3 separate regions of the Homo sapiens genome follow, and all the other regions are linked to region 3. The links are contacts of gene promoters, found by promoter capture Hi-C in blood cells and fetal thymus (Javierre and others, 2016). All regions are on one chromosome and are shown on one strand. Each heading gives the region's core, a stretch centred on a gene start or on the middle of the fragment in contact. The rest is flanking DNA. Distances are from core to core; before and after follow the strand shown. Region 1 overlaps PRDM16 (PR/SET domain 16). Region 2 overlaps MEGF6 (multiple EGF like domains 6). Region 3 holds the start of PEX10 (peroxisomal biogenesis factor 10).

Region 1 (4,956 bases), core at 1,720-4,219, 1.0 Mb before region 3:
CTCTTAGAGACAGCCTTCTGTCCTGGTGGGTCTCCTGCAGTGCGGCCGGGCTGCACCCTAGCTCGGGGTCCTGGTGGGTCTCCTGCAGCGCGGCCGGGCTGCACCCTAGCTCGGGGTCCTGGTGGGTCTCCTGCAGTGCGGCCGGGCTGCACCCTAGCTCGGGGTCCTGGTGGGTCTCCTGCAGTGCGGCCGGGCTGCACCCTAGCTCGGGGTAGGGGGGCCTTGCTGTCCTCCAGGTGGTTCAGCCTCCGCACACGCTCCTGGTCCTGGGCCCACCCCGGCAAGGATGCCATTGATGAATCCTCACTTGTTCCTCGCCTGGCCTTACTCTGGGAGCTGCAGCTTAGGGGATTGTGCCTGGGGACGGGGCTGTGGGGCGTAGGTAAGGCCTGGCCTGTGGCGCTCATGGGTCTGACACGCAGCTGCAGGGAACACGAACAGCTCCCATGCGGCTGTCTCAGCGTGGCCAGGGCAGAGTTCCTTTCAGGCCATCGTTCCTGGAGCCCACTGGGGAATGCCGGGACAGCCTGGGGGCTGCAGAGTAGGTGGGGTTGCACTGGGGTGGAGGTGAGGCTTTTGGGACCACGGCCCAGAGCCAGCTTCTCCCCCCGCCCCTTCCTCTGAGCCCGCTCTGGGCTCTGATGGATGAAGATGCTGAGGGCCCTACAGGTGAGCTCACCTTCCTAGGAGGGGCACAGATTTGGAACGTGGCTTTGCCAGAGCCAGTGTCCAACTGCCTCCTGTGTTTATTGCTTGGATGCCTCTTTCCCAGGTACCCCCACTCTCCTAGAAGCAATGACAGGAAGACGCAGCCCTGCCCTGGAGGAGGGGATGGGCTCTGAGGGAGCTGGGGTCTCAGGGGGCTTCTTCTTCACCTACTGGAGGTGGTGGGGAGTGAGCTGGGCCCTGTGGGTACAGAGCCTTAGACCGCCCATGGCCAGTGCGGTAAAAGCTTGGGATCTGGCTCTAGGTTCTGGGCCTGAGCAAGACACCCCACTTCTGTGGGCCCCGTTTTCCCTTCTGTAGAATCAGGGGATCACCCCCTCAGGCCTCTTGGAGTTTGGAACACCTTCGGTTCTCTGCCAGCTGGCTGGTGTTAGCTTTCACAAAGGAAGCAGCCCCGCTGGGGTGTCTGAAGGCTCCCCCAGAGTAAGTGAGGCCTACGGAGCCCTGGTATCCCAGGTTGCACAGAGCATGCGCCGACATTCCTGGATCCGAATTCCACCATCGTTCTGCTGCTGTGTGTCTAGACGCACGTGCGCCCATGCGTGTACATGTGTCTCTAGGTGTACGCACACGGCTGTCCGTCACGCATGTGTATGTGCACACACTGTCCATGTGCATGTACTTGCATGTGTGCATATGCGTGTGTGTAGATCTAGGCAGGCATGTTTATGCACGCACATGTTATGTACACGTGTGTGCATGAGTGCACGTGCATGCCCGTATTTGGGGACCTGCACGCAAAGGGCAGAGCACACAGTTCCTGGACTGCCCATGCCCAGACCACAGCCCTGTCCCCAGGCACGTCCTGCCCTGTCCCCAGGCACGATCCCCTAAACTGCAGCTCCCAGAGCAAGGCCAGGTGAGGAACAAGTGAGGATTCATCAATGGCATATGTATACACATGTATACAAACGTGCATCTCTGTGTGCATATGTGCATGTGAATGTGTACATGTACACGGGGCATACCTATGTGTGCATGTGTGTGCGTGCATGTGTACACATGTGTATGTGTGTACATGTGTGTATAAAGGTGCAGCATTTTGGTTTGGAAATCTTTAGTGCCTCAGATTAAATCAAAATGTCCTTGAGTGTCAGCGGCACAGCTGAACTTGTGCCCGGCTCGGTCACCTGGCTAGTGTTTTGCACACACATATGTTAACAGTGAGGTCATAAGCCCAGGGGTGCTTACTCTCATGACTCTCCAGGTGGAGGAACTGAGGCAGACAGCGCAGCTTCCCCAGGTTCCCAGAGCCCAGGGGCCTCACCCTCTGTGGTGAGGCCCCCACTGCGCCTATCTGGATGTGTTAGGGGCTGGTGCTGGGGTGGAGGTGCATGTCCTCTGAGGGTGGCCACGCAGGGCTGTTGGCCGGGTCCAGACTTTCCCCAGCCCGCGATAGTTTTCTTACCGTTTCTCTGTTCGCGTTGATGCTTGGTTCATCTCACTATTGGCAATAAAGTTTCTGATTTCCGAGAAATAAGAGTCTTCTTTCTCGTCTAAAAGTGCGTGGTTGTCCGACTCTGAGGTGGGAGAGGACGCGCTGGTCCCCAGGTGGTTCGTGAGGACCCCGGGGTGCTGGCTCACTGCGGAGGGGCGGGAGCATCAGGGGGCGGCCTCTCGCTGGACCCCTCCCTCCGTGGGGCAAACCAACCGCGAACGGGGTACACCTGGGGTGCTGTTAGGGAGGCAGGTTTCTTAGGGACACCGGAGAGCACGAGGTTCTCTTTAATGACCACGGTTTGAGGGGTGCCTGTTGGCTTCCTGAGGGGTAGTCTGTGGCCCTCTTCCCTGCCCGGCGCCCACTCCCCTGCTGTTCCCCCTCCCCCTCTGTGGGGCCTGCCCGTGTGGGTGCTCTGGGGGCTGCCCCACCCCGCGTGGCCCACCTGGTGCGTTCTCGTGCTCGTGCTTCTTGAGGTGCCGGTCCAGGTTGGTCTGCTGCCCGAAGCAGCGGTTGCACAGGTGGCACTTGAAAGGCTTCTCCTTGTTGTGGATGTTCCGGACGTGCCGCTGGAGGTTCGAAGAGATGCTGAAGGAGCGGTCGCAGTACTTACACCTGGAAGGGGCACACGCGCTCCTCAGTGCAGGCCCCGGCTCTGCATGGCAGGCCGGGCCACAGAGGGTGGGGGGAAGGGAGCCCGCGCCCCTGCCCCGTGCCCCGTGCACAGCTTTGCCCCGCCGTGTCCCGGAGGTTGCTGGATCTCCCAGCTGCAGAGCCAAAGGCATCCTGGGGAAGCTGTCCCTAGAAACAGCCCCGGCTTCAAGAAGCAGGGGTTCACGCCTATAATCACAGCACTTTGGGAGGCCAAGGCGGGTGGATCACGAGGTCAGGAGATCGAGACCATCCTGGCTGACATGGTGAAACCCCGTCTCTACTAAAAATACAAAAAAATCAGCCAGTCGTGGTGGTGGGCGCCTGTAGTCCCAGCTACTCTGGAGGCTGAGGCAGGAGAATGGCGTGAACCCGGGAGGCGGAGCTTGCAGTGAGCCAAGATCACGCCACCGCACTCCAGCCTGGGCGACAGAGCGAGACTCCATCTCAAAAAAAAAAAAAAAAAAAAGCAAGCAGGCGTTCACCCTCCTACTGTTCTGTGGCTGGCTGGTGGATCCCCCTGGAGTGTGCCCCGTGTCCCCTGGGCAGGCGGTGCGCCCGACCCTCCGGCGTCTCCTGCCCTCTGTTGTCTGGGTCTCCCTGGCCCCCAGGCCGCGGGGCCGGCAGGTCTGCAGCCGGAGGGCGACATGCTCCTTGCAGCCTCCAGAGGGCGGCCTTGCTCCATGGAAAGACACTCGGCAAGGCCAGTTTCCCAGCCGGAGGGGCTCCACAGACCAGCTCCCAGACCAGCTCCCTGTGACCTTCCTCCTCCACCCCTCGAGGTGGCTGGGGGCCCCTGGGCAGGCCCCACCTCACTTGGAGCCTCAGTTTGCCAGTCCATTCATGGAGGGCTTGGGGGCTGCCCTGGATGTTGCCACTTGTTGGCTGCCTCCTCTATTAAGGACACAAAGACCACACTGGCCCCTTTGGGCACTGCCAGCTCCCGGGCTCGGTTTATCTTTATTCCCCCAGGGTGGGCAGGGCTGCTGCCGGCCTGCACCGTGCACGTGGGGAAGTTGGGATGAGACCCCCTTCCTCCATCTGGCCTCCACGGCATCAGGCAGAGCAGGACTCTAACACCCTGAGTTTATCAGAGCAAGGCCCCTTGCGGCTGGAAAGTCGTCATAATGAGCGATCGAGGAGGGCTGCGTGTGGAGGGTTCCCCTCAGTGTGGGGCCCTTGGGCTGGGAGTGACCTTCACAGCCACACGTGGTGACCCTGCAGGCAGGGAAAGGGAGGGTTGTTCTCTCCCATTTTTAGAGAGCGGGGCTGAGAACTAGGGGGCCTGAGCGACATGTGCATTGAGCAGCAAGAAAATCATGCCTGAAACGAAGAGGGGGAGCTGGGGATGAGCTAAGGAGGAACCCCATGAGCTCTGTAGATGCACGTGCGCTGCCTCTGTGAAGACAGCCTCCTCCCTGGGGGGCATCCGGCGGGGGGCTGGGACTGGCTTACTGAGAGGCACCCGGCTGGGCTGGGCGACGGTGAAGGGAACCCTGACTGCATGGTTTTCAGTTGCACGTGGGTGCTTGGCATGTGCGTGTGTGCCATGCCTGTGTGTGCACACTTGTGTGTGCTCTTGGTCATCAGAACGCCCGCAGCGGTGCTCATCTGATCCCACAGGCACACACGCACTTGAACATTCTGTTTATATGATCATGCGTTTTCATATTTTGAAAACAAAGCAAGCTCCATGATGCCCATGGCACAGCACACAGAAAGTCTACCCACTGCAGCAGGATCCTGGCCGGGGGGGCCTGGTAGCAGCTGGAGACCAGGCCAGGGCCTCTGTGGGAGCCTCTGTGGAGGCACCAGGATGGGGCAGGGTTTGTTCACCCGGAGTGGGTGTGGCTGTTCTAAGCACAGTGGCCTTCGTTCCCACAGAGGACAGGACTCCGAGAGGCCCCACCCCGCCCCGACCGGTGCCGGTGGCCCGCTCCAGAGCAGCATACTGGTCACATGCCCTTGTCACATGGATGGGGACGTGCCTGGTGACACTCGGGAGTCCTGGCCTCCCAGACCGGGAGGGGCTGTGTGGCTCGGCCTTCTCGGCACGGTGCTGCCCTGTACAGGAGGGGCCTGGGCTGGTGTTTGCTATCACAAAAGCCTGGCGAGGGAGTCTGACCTGCCATCAACACACC
Region 2 (4,887 bases), core at 2,388-4,887, 1.1 Mb before region 3:
GGTGTTGGTTGAGCCCCTGCTGAGTTCAGGGCTGTGGGCGTTGGTTGAGCACCTGCTGCGTGCAGGGCTGTGGGCGTTGGTTGAGCGCCTGCTGCGTGCAGGGCTGTGGGTGTTGGTTGAGCGCCTGCTGCGTGCAGGGCTATGGGTGTTGGTTGAGCCCCTGCTGAGTTCAGGGCTGTGGGCGTTGGTTGAGCGCCTGCTGCGTGCAGGGCTGTGGGTGTTGGTTGAGTGCCTGCTGCCTGGAGGGCTGTGCTGACCTGTCCCCTCCCTCCCTCTGGCCTGAGGTCACTGGCCGCTCTCTCCTGGAGCTGGGCCTGTCCCCCTGGCTGCTGCCTGGCCGGCCCCTCCCAGCCTGGCCCCCCCTAGCACGTGTCTGCCATGGCTCTGACCCTGGGCTGGGAGGATGGCCAGAGTGGCCTCTGTGGCTGAGGGTGAGTTTTACTGGCTGGTTGAAGAGATGCTACTCAGCTCTGGCAGGGCCACCAGGGCTTCAGTCCTGTGGGTAGGACTGGGTGGGCAGGGGCCTTCCTGGTTCCCCACCTGGGAGCACAGGCCTCAGTGGTCCCGGGTCGCCCGCAGATGTGGATGAGTGCGCCTCCAGCCGTGGCGGCTGCGAGCACCACTGCACCAACCTGGCCGGCTCCTTCCAGTGCTCCTGCGAGGCCGGCTACCGGCTGCACGAGGACCGTAGGGGCTGCAGCCGTGAGTCTCCCGCCCTCCGCGGAGCACCGGCCTCTGCCTTCTCGAGTTTGCCCCAGCTGACCCTGCGTCCCGCAGGCCTGGCCCACCCCACCCCCACCTGCCTGGGGTCCTTTGCCCCCTGGCCTCTCTGGGCCAACACACCTCAGAGGCTCTTGGGCCCTTGGGGACCCACTGAGGTCCTGCCTCTTCTGAGGGCCGTGTGGGGGTTGGGGACAGTGGGGTGGGGGAAGCTGGTGAGACAGGCATCCTCCCGGAGCCCAGCACCTGTCCTGACCACGTGAGAGAAGGGACCAAGACCTAAGGTGATGTTGTCCCTGGGACTGATGGCAGCTGCTCCCACCCCTACCCCTCTAGGCCCCAGAGTCCCTAGAGTTGGGATGAGGCTGGGGGCAGAGGGGCCGGGTTCAGGTCCTCAGGGCCCAGAGCCTTCTCTTTCCTGAGAAGGAGGGTCGGGTGCAGCTGGGATGACCCCTGGGACCAGGCTGAGGAGGTGGGGGTAGTGGAGGCAGTAGGAGGGTGGTGGGGTTCCCTGGGGTGGGGCTTAGGCCCAGCCCTACCCGCCGGGGGGTCGCTGGAGCAGGCAGGTGGGTGGCAGGGGCTAAGGCGCCTCTGTGCCCCTGGCAGCCCTGGAGGAGCCGATGGTGGACCTGGACGGCGAGCTGCCTTTCGTGCGGCCCCTGCCCCACATTGCCGTGCTCCAGGACGAGCTGCCGCAACTCTTCCAGGATGACGACGTCGGGGCCGATGAGGAAGAGGCAGAGTTGCGGGGCGAACACACGCTCACAGAGAAGTTTGGTGAGCGCGGGCCCAGCCCCCGGGGGCTCCTGCTCGCAGGGCCAGCAGCCAGCGACCCCTCGGGCTAGGCTGCCATCCAATCAGAGGCTGGGGACGTGAGGAAGGACCCCTGCAATGCCATGTTAGACCAAGGCCCAGAGAGGGTGAGCCACTGGCTCAGTTTGCGCAGCTCGTGCGGGCTGAGCCGGGCGGGACCGGGCTCACAGCTTCCAGGTTAGGGCTCCTTCTGGCCCCAGCATCTGTCCCCATGTCACCCTTTGGGGGCCCTCATGGGCCGAGGATGCCCCTTATGCCCCTTCCCTGGCCTGAGGGTCTGAGCCGGGCCTCTGTGCCTGCTGAGGCCAGGGGTCAGGCTCTGAATCCCCCCATCCTGGTCTGCCCCCAGTCTGCCTGGATGACTCCTTTGGCCATGACTGCAGCTTGACCTGTGATGACTGCAGGAACGGAGGGACCTGCCTCCTGGGCCTGGATGGCTGTGATTGCCCCGAGGGCTGGACTGGGCTCATCTGCAATGAGAGTGAGGCAGCTGGGCAGGGGCTGGGGGCTGGGAAGGGGCCTCTGAGCCCCAAGACCTGGGGACAGCCCTTTGAGCCCATTCAGTTTTACTCCTGCCTGCTGGCCCTGGGCAGGGGGCTCTGTGCAGAGCCATTCATTCATCCATTTGTTAATTCCTTTGATAAACATCCCCTGACTGTCCACTCTATGCCACGCACTGTTCCAGGCAGTAAGGATTCCCTGGGAACAAGCAAGTTAAAGTGTTTGTCCTTCCTAAATATCAGTCTTCACGGTCCAGCAACAAGCAAGCCAGCAAATAACTAAGACAGTGAGGGGTGTCTGCTGAAGGGCAGCCGGCAGGTGGGGTTCCTCTAGCTCAGATGGCCAGGGACCCGTCATAACTGTCAGTGAGGCTCTGCCTGTTTGAAAGAGCTGGTTCAGAAGGAGGAGACTCCTCTCTCTGCTGGTGTTCAGAGAGAGGAGTCAGTGATCAATTAGTGATGTCTGCCATGAGCATGGGCAGGGGTGATGTGGTACAAGTGCCATCATTTTATCTCTAGGCAACTGCTTCTAAACCCAAGCCTCCAACCCTAGGAAGGGGTCTCAGAGTGTCGTGCTGGCTGGTGACCCTGACGCTTCCCTGTCATTCTTTGTAGCTTGTCCTCCGGACACCTTTGGGAAGAACTGCAGCTTCTCCTGCAGCTGTCAGAATGGTGGGACCTGCGACTCTGTCACGGGGGCCTGCCGCTGCCCCCCGGGTGTCAGTGGAACTAACTGTGAGGATGGTGCGTGCAGCCTCTTCTGGTGCTTCTGGAATTACCCCTGGGCTGTAAGGGAAGTGGGAGACACCACCCCTCCACGTCCTCCTTGTCTCCTTCCTCCCACTGGAGCAGGGAAACTGCTACCAAACTTTTCCTAGACTCCCTTTCCTTCCTGCCTCCCTGTCTCCAGAGCTTTAGGCTGTGCTTGAGAGAGAATGAGGCCCTTGAATGAGAGGGGTATTGCTTTTTCACTGTTGCTAATTTTCCCAGGGCCTAACTGTAGCAGACGATAAGACTACAGAGCAGCACTTTTGGAATGGGTTCCCTTGAGAGGCAGTGAGGTCCCTGTTCCTGGAAGCATTCAAGTAGAGCTGGTGATGGCTGGGTGAGGTTTGCAGAAGGGATTACTTGGGGGCCAGTGGCTGCAAGGGATGATGTTGGCTCCCTTATTAACTCTGAAGTTTCAGCCTTTCTGGAGGAATTAGTCCAGAAAATGTTTCCCAGGTGGCTAAAGCTTCATCTTTAAGTCTTCAGACTTCATCATTTCTGCCTCTTTCGATGGAGAGTGCAGCTAACGTATCATAAACTTTCTGCCTTTGTGAGAGGAAGACAGCCAACCCTAGAACCTGTCCCCCAGGTGGCCCCGTGAGCTTTCCTGGCCGTATGTGCTGGGCTCTGCAGGGCTGGTTGCCTGGTGGTGGTGGGGACCCCAGGCAGCCACACAGGGCTTCCTACCTCTTCCCTGTCAGTGTGCCTCCCTTCCCCACTTTGTCTGCCCTTTCTATTCTACAGGGTGCTGGGGAACCCCCGTATTCATTCCTGGGTGCTGCACCCCTGGGATCGTGCTGTACCCTCCAGGCTGCCTGCAGCGTTGAGGGGTCACCTCCCCTTCTCCAGGCCTCCTCTTTCTGTCTCGGCTTCCGCCTGCCTCTCAGATGAGGATGTTTGTCTTTGGATTCAGGGCCAGCCTGGATAATGTAGGGCTACTATGGCAAGCACTGTTGCAAGAAATGCAACTGTGCCTAGTCTCCAGGTCCTGGGGACTAGGACGTGTATGTAGTTGTGGGGGTACCTTCAGCTGACTACCGCCTTCAGTAGGAGGAAGGACGTGGGGCAGGACCCAGCCAGAGAGAATTGTTTGGGGAAGAAAGGCGAGGACCTTTCTAGCTCTGGGGCCACCTGCGGCTTGGGCCTGGGACCTTGTCTACTGGGGCCACGTGTCCTTCCCGCTTTGAGGCTCTGAGATCAAGCTTAGTGACCACCAGGGGACAGAAGTCAGGCGGCTCCTGATGGGGGCCAGACTTTGGGGAGAGTGGGGCGTGAGCTTTGTGCATCTCTCCAGTGTGGGCCGAGGAATGTGCTCTTCCACCCGCCCTTGCCACAAACCCTGGGGGCAGGGGATGTAGGGGACAGACCAGCCAGGGCAGACGGCCACATCCGGAAGGCTCACCTAGTGCCCTGGCGGGGGCTGCTCCCAGCTCCTGTGCTGGGCCCTGGGCCCCCGCGCATCCTACCACATGGGGGGACCACATGTGGTAGGCTGGCTGCCACCAAGGTTCACATGGAGCCCCGCTGCCCCCAGGCTGCCCCAAGGGCTACTATGGCAAGCACTGTCGCAAGAAATGCAACTGTGCCAACCGGGGCCGGTGCCACCGCCTCTACGGGGCCTGCCTCTGCGACCCAGGGCTCTACGGCCGCTTCTGCCACCTCAGTGAGTCTCACTGCCCCTTCCAGTGTCCATGGTGGTGGCAGCGGGTGGAAGGGATGGTCCATGTCCTGTTACCTGTAGTCTGGGTTAGGATGAGGCTATCGGGGCCCAGCCAGGTCACCCACTGGGATGTAGGTCTGGGGTCCGCCATGAGTCTGTGGACTCCAAGCCACATCCTCTCGACTGTGACTGTGCTGGCATCCAGGGCGTCTGGGTGGATGGTCCCCAACCTTGTGCCTCCCAGCCTTGATGGGTGGTAGGGCTGCAGATGAGGGCAGGGCCAGGCCTTTTGCAGAAGCCTCCGGGGGATGAGGCCTATCTTGGCTTTTGGAGATTCCTGGCAGCAAGGCCAAGCTCTGAGTCCCTGGTGGGGTCACCCATCCCTGGGGTTCAGACACTCAGGGAAGGGGCGGTGGGCTGCAGGGG
Region 3 (4,557 bases), core at 700-3,199:
GGACCCTCGGGGCACCAGAGGCCTTCGAAGCCCCAATGAGTGAGGCAACTGAGGGTCGCGGGTGCCATTACAAGGCCCAGCCAAGGCCTAGAGCCAAGGCTTGAACCGTGGGGGACCCCCAAGCCCCACCTGCCCAGGAACAGCAGACACTGGGACACTTTGTTTCAGGTCCTGCCCAGGCCCCTCCCACTGTGAGGCTGGGATTTGTCGCCCAGGGTGCAGATGAGAAGAGTGGGGAAAGCAGTCCTGAGCCAGGACAGCGGTGGGGGATGCCTCCTAGAGCAGGCCCTCCCGTCAGGGGCCCATCATAGAACCCAGTGTGAATCCAAAGGAGCCGAAGCCTCCTCCTCAGAATCAGACGTGGAGCCATGAACCCAGGGGCCAGAGCGGCATCTCAAACTGTTATCTAAGCATTGACCAGAACACATGATCACCTCAGCGGCTCCACGTGGGCGATGCCGGGTTGCCTGGTCCACGGATGAGGGGTTCAGCCCAAGGTGCTCAACCCAATCAGAGGGCAGCCTCTGTGTCCAGGAGACACGGGTGCACCCGCGGGGTCAGAACTCCAAAGGGGCGCGGGGGCGCTGGGAGGTTTGGTAGCCAGAGGGCCTGCGGGGCGGGGCCACCCAGGCCATGCCCCTTCCCTGTAAGAGGGGCCATTCCTGCAGTGTGGGGCTCTGGCTTTGTGACTGGGCTGTGCCAGTCTGGGGATGATCCCACAGCTGAGCTCCTGTAGATGGAACCAGAGGTGAGGCAAGGAACTGGAGGCCCTCCCCACTGAGGTCAGCGGGGCGCAGACGCCCCCTTGTCGTGCCCTGCCTTCCTCCTGCAATCCTGCAGGACTCTCCAGGGCCAAGTGCTGCCCTTGGGGCCAAAAAACAGGGCCTTCTCCTTCACCTGCCCTGCAGCCATTCAGGTATGTACCAGGCATCTCCTGCCCTCCCTGGCCAGGCGGCCCCAGAGGCACAGGCCGCAGACACCGCAGGCGACCTGCGTGGGCCTCCAGTTCCCGCCCCAGCCCTTCCCACCCCCAGCTCAGGGCAGGTCCAGCTGTGGCCAGCGGCTGGGGAAGGTTCTGTCCCCTCCAGGTGTGCGGCCTTGGCAAGTGCTTCAGGCCTCCCTCCGCTCGTCCCCTGGGAGCAGAGGGATCGGAGCGCCTGCGATGTGGTTCCCCAGAGCACCTGCGGGGCTCAGGCCAGGCAGGGTGGAGGGTGGAGGGTGGAAGGCCACCTTCCGCCCGTCCTGGAACCACGCGGCGGCTTCCCGGCTGCCCCCCACCCGCCAGGCCCTGCCTCCCGTGGGCACCAGGGGGGCGTCCACACCAAGCCGGCCGTGTGCTTTTCGCGCAGGATTACTGGGGAAGGCGGCTGCTCGGGGCCTGGAAGGTCCCGGGTCTCGCCTCGTGCCCCTCTGGCCCCCAAACCGACCGGCTCCCCGGAACTGGCCAACCCGCGCTGAGAGCCCGCGCAGCTCAAAGGGCGCGAGGGCGGGACCGCCGCGGCCGGCGCTGGGAGCTCGGCTTCCCGAAGACCCAAGCGAAAGCCTCCGTCTCCCCAGCCGTAAATGGGCCTGCAGCGTCTCCACTCCGCAGCGCTGTCCCCAGTGGGAGGGCGGCCCGTGGACGTGCAGGGAGCAGAGCAGGGGCCCCTGGCAGCGTAGGACCCCGAGGTCGCAGCAACCACGCGGCCGCGAGCCCATCCCGCTGCCTCGCCAGCGCCCCTCGCGCGTGCCCCGCCCCCACCTCGGCTCGCGGGCCCCGCCCCGCTCCGCTCCGCCCTGCGCCTCCGACTACCTTCCCGCTGCCCCGCCCCGCGCTGCGCTGGTTCGGACTCCAGCCCCGCTTCCGCCCGGGCCCTGGCCCCGCCTCCAGCCCCAGTCCGGCCCCGCCCCAGCACCTTGACGCAGAGGTCTGCGCCGCACGCAGAGCCACGTCGTGCCGTCATCAGTTCTCGCCCGTCTGGGCGTGGGCGTGGCCGGCGTGGCTGCTCGGGACCACCCGAACCCGCGGCCATGGCCCCGGCCGCCGCCAGCCCCCCGGAGGTGATCCGCGCGGCGCAGAAGGACGAGTACTACCGCGGTGGGCTGCGGAGCGCGGCGGGCGGCGCCCTGCACAGCCTGGCGGGTGAGGGCCGGGCGCGGCCGGACGTCCTCGCGAGCGGCCCAGGGGGTGTTGCCCCTCATGGAGGCGGGGTGTCTGCCGTGTGTGGTCACGGTCGCCTGGGCCCGTCCCACAACCTGGGACCCGGCAGTCTCCTTCGCCTGCCCTGCGGCCATTCAGGGATGTGCGGGGCACCTCCTGCCCTCCCTGGCCAGGTGGCCCCAGAGGCACAGGCCGCAGACACCGCGGGGGACCTGCGTGGGCCTCCAGTTCCCGCCCAAGCCCTTCCCGTCCCCAGCTCAGGGCAGGTCCAGCTGACGCCAGCGGCTGGGGAAGACTCTGTCCCCTCCAGGTGTGAGGCCTTGGCAAGTGCTTCAAGCCTCCCTCCGATCCTCCCCTGTGAGCAGAGGGGTCAGAGCGCCCGCGGCGCGAACGCCTCATACCTCGGTCCGGTTCACACTGACCCCGGCCTTTCCTAGGCCTGAGCAGCAGCCCAGGCCCCTCGCCCTGCTGACCCCAGTGTAGGCTCAGCCAGGCCCTGCCTGCCTCACCAGGCCGGGAGCTGAGTACAGAAGCCAGTGTACTCAATGAAGCAGCACCTGTCATCCCAGCAGTTTGGGAGGCAGAGGCGGGAGGATCGCTTGAGCCCAGGAGTTTGAAACCAGCCTGGGCAACATGGCAAGACCCCGTCTCTACAAAAAATCTGAAAATTAGCCGGACGTGGTGGCGGCGTCTGTAATCCCAGCTCTTCAGGAGGCTGAGGCAAGAGAATCGCCTGAGCCCGAGGGATGAGGCTGCAGTGAGCCATGATTGTGCCGCTGCACTCCAGCCTGGGCGACGGGGCCAGACCCCATCACCGATTAAAAAACGAAAAAAAAAAGATGCCGGGTGTGGTGGCTCACGCCTGTAATCCCAGCACTTTGGGAGGCCGAGGCGGGTGGATCACTTGAGGTCAGGAGTTCGAGACCAGTCTACACAACATGGTGAAACCCCGTCTCTACTAAAAATACAAAAATCAGCAGGGCGTGGTGGCGCGTGCGTGTAATCCCAGCTACTTGGGAGGCTGAGACAGAATCACTTGAACCCGGGAGGCGGAGGTTGCAGTAAGCCAAGATCGTGCCACTGCACTCCAGTCTGGGCAACAGAGTGAGACTCCATCTCAAAAAAAAAAAAAAAAAAAAAAAGGCAAAGCCATCAAGTCTTTGGGGGGTGGGGCAGGCAGTCGTTAAAGGCATGAACTCCCAGCAGAACGTTTCAGGGAGCAGTGGCACTAGAGCCCAGTGGTGGGGGTGTCGTGGCCAAAGGAACAGTGCCATGGGACAGGAAGAGCATGGGTAAATATCAGAGGACAGCCAGGCTCCGTGCCGGGAGGCCCATGGGTGTCAGGTGGGCAGCCATTGGTGGATTCTGAACAGGAGAGTGACATGATGAGAATTTTTTGTGTGTGTACTTACTTGTTTTACAGTACACTTGGCACTTACCCCTGTGCCAGACACTGTTCCCAGTGTTTTACAAATATTGAATCTTCAAACATCCCTCCAAGTAGGACTTATTACTCTTCTGATAGATGAGCAAATTGAGATTCCAGAAAGACCTCACAGCCAGCAAGTTGGAGAGCTGCTTTTTGATGCTAGACAGTTGGCCTCTGGCCTGTAATCTTAATACCCCAGACCATCTTTCCATGTGGCCCTCATAGGCCCTAGAACAGTTGCTCAGGGGAATCCCGGAGCAAGAGATGAGCACAGGTGGGAGATTCTTCGCAGACTGTCTGCAGCTCACGCTAAGGCAAGTCAAGGTGGTGCCTCCGGAGACAGAAGCAGAGAGGGAGGCCAGGGAGTGAGTGTTGGCTTCATGGAAGGGGTGGGACTGGATCTGGGCCTAGACAACTGGGGGAGGACTGTGGTCCCTCATCCTCAGAGGATGCCCACCAGCTCCCCCGGACTAATACTGTTTCTCCTCTCAGGTGCGAGGAAGTGGCTGGAGTGGAGGAAGGAGGTTGAGCTGCTCTCAGATGTGGCCTACTTTGGCCTCACCACACTTGCAGGTAGAAGCTCCCACGGGACCTCAGGACTGAGGGCAGCCACACACACCAAGTCTGGGGACGGTGGCCAGGGGGCTGCCAGGCAGTGTGAGAAGCTCCTGGAGCTGGCCCGGGTGAGGTTGCTTCAGGGAAGTGCAGGAGGTACTGCTCCGAGGGAGGCGAGGCATCTGCTCCCAGCAGGGAGCCGACTTTTCCAGCCTTTGTGTGTCCCTGGGGTTCTTTGTTTAAGACTTTACCCCGGGTGCCACTGAGACCCATTTCTCAGTGGCCAGCCCTGGTGGCACCAGTGAGTCACAGTGCTGAGCCATGTCATAGGGTGCAGTGCCCGTGTGACAGTGCCCTGGTGGAGCAGTGGTGGGTCTGTGGCCCAGGCTGGTCACCACCCTTTAGAGGGAGTTGTTGACAGAAGCTCTCAGGC

The links. The method cuts DNA at HindIII sites, captures the fragments that hold promoters and counts their contacts. A CHiCAGO score of 5 or more calls a contact.
Region 1: a contact is called between a fragment that was not itself captured here and the fragment with the promoter of PEX10 in region 3, in 2 of 17 cell types (endothelial precursors and M0 macrophages). The highest score is 9.4, in endothelial precursors.
Region 2: a contact is called between a fragment that was not itself captured here and the fragment with the promoter of PEX10 in region 3, in 1 of 17 cell types (endothelial precursors). The highest score is 6.3, in endothelial precursors.

Annotation. Positions count from the first base shown.
Region 1 is chr1:3,423,404-3,428,359 of GRCh38, reverse strand. PRDM16 (PR/SET domain 16) reads right to left here. Exons shown (of 17, transcript NM_022114.4): 13 at 2,610-2,779; 14 at 2,135-2,309. Among named protein-coding and RNA genes, the nearest start is that of ARHGEF16, 29 kb to the left of the region's middle. The HindIII fragment of the contact is 4,030 bases long and covers 955-4,956 here.
Region 2 is chr1:3,505,685-3,510,571 of GRCh38, reverse strand. It overlaps MEGF6 (multiple EGF like domains 6), which reads left to right. Exons shown (of 37, transcript NM_001409.4): 11 at 580-702; 12 at 1,327-1,497; 13 at 1,883-2,014; 14 at 2,649-2,777; 15 at 4,336-4,464. Among named protein-coding and RNA genes, the nearest start is that of MIR551A, 53 kb to the left of the region's middle. The HindIII fragment of the contact is 736 bases long and covers 3,270-4,005 here.
Region 3 is chr1:2,409,956-2,414,512 of GRCh38, reverse strand. PEX10 (peroxisomal biogenesis factor 10) reads left to right here and starts at 1,949. Exons shown (of 6, transcript NM_002617.4): 1 at 1,949-2,122; 2 at 4,062-4,142. The coding sequence starts at 2,011. RefSeq lists enhancers at 980-1,559, 1,560-2,140, 2,141-2,721, 2,722-3,302 and silencers at 1,224-1,823, 1,984-2,363. The HindIII fragment of the contact is 16,041 bases long and covers 1-4,557 here.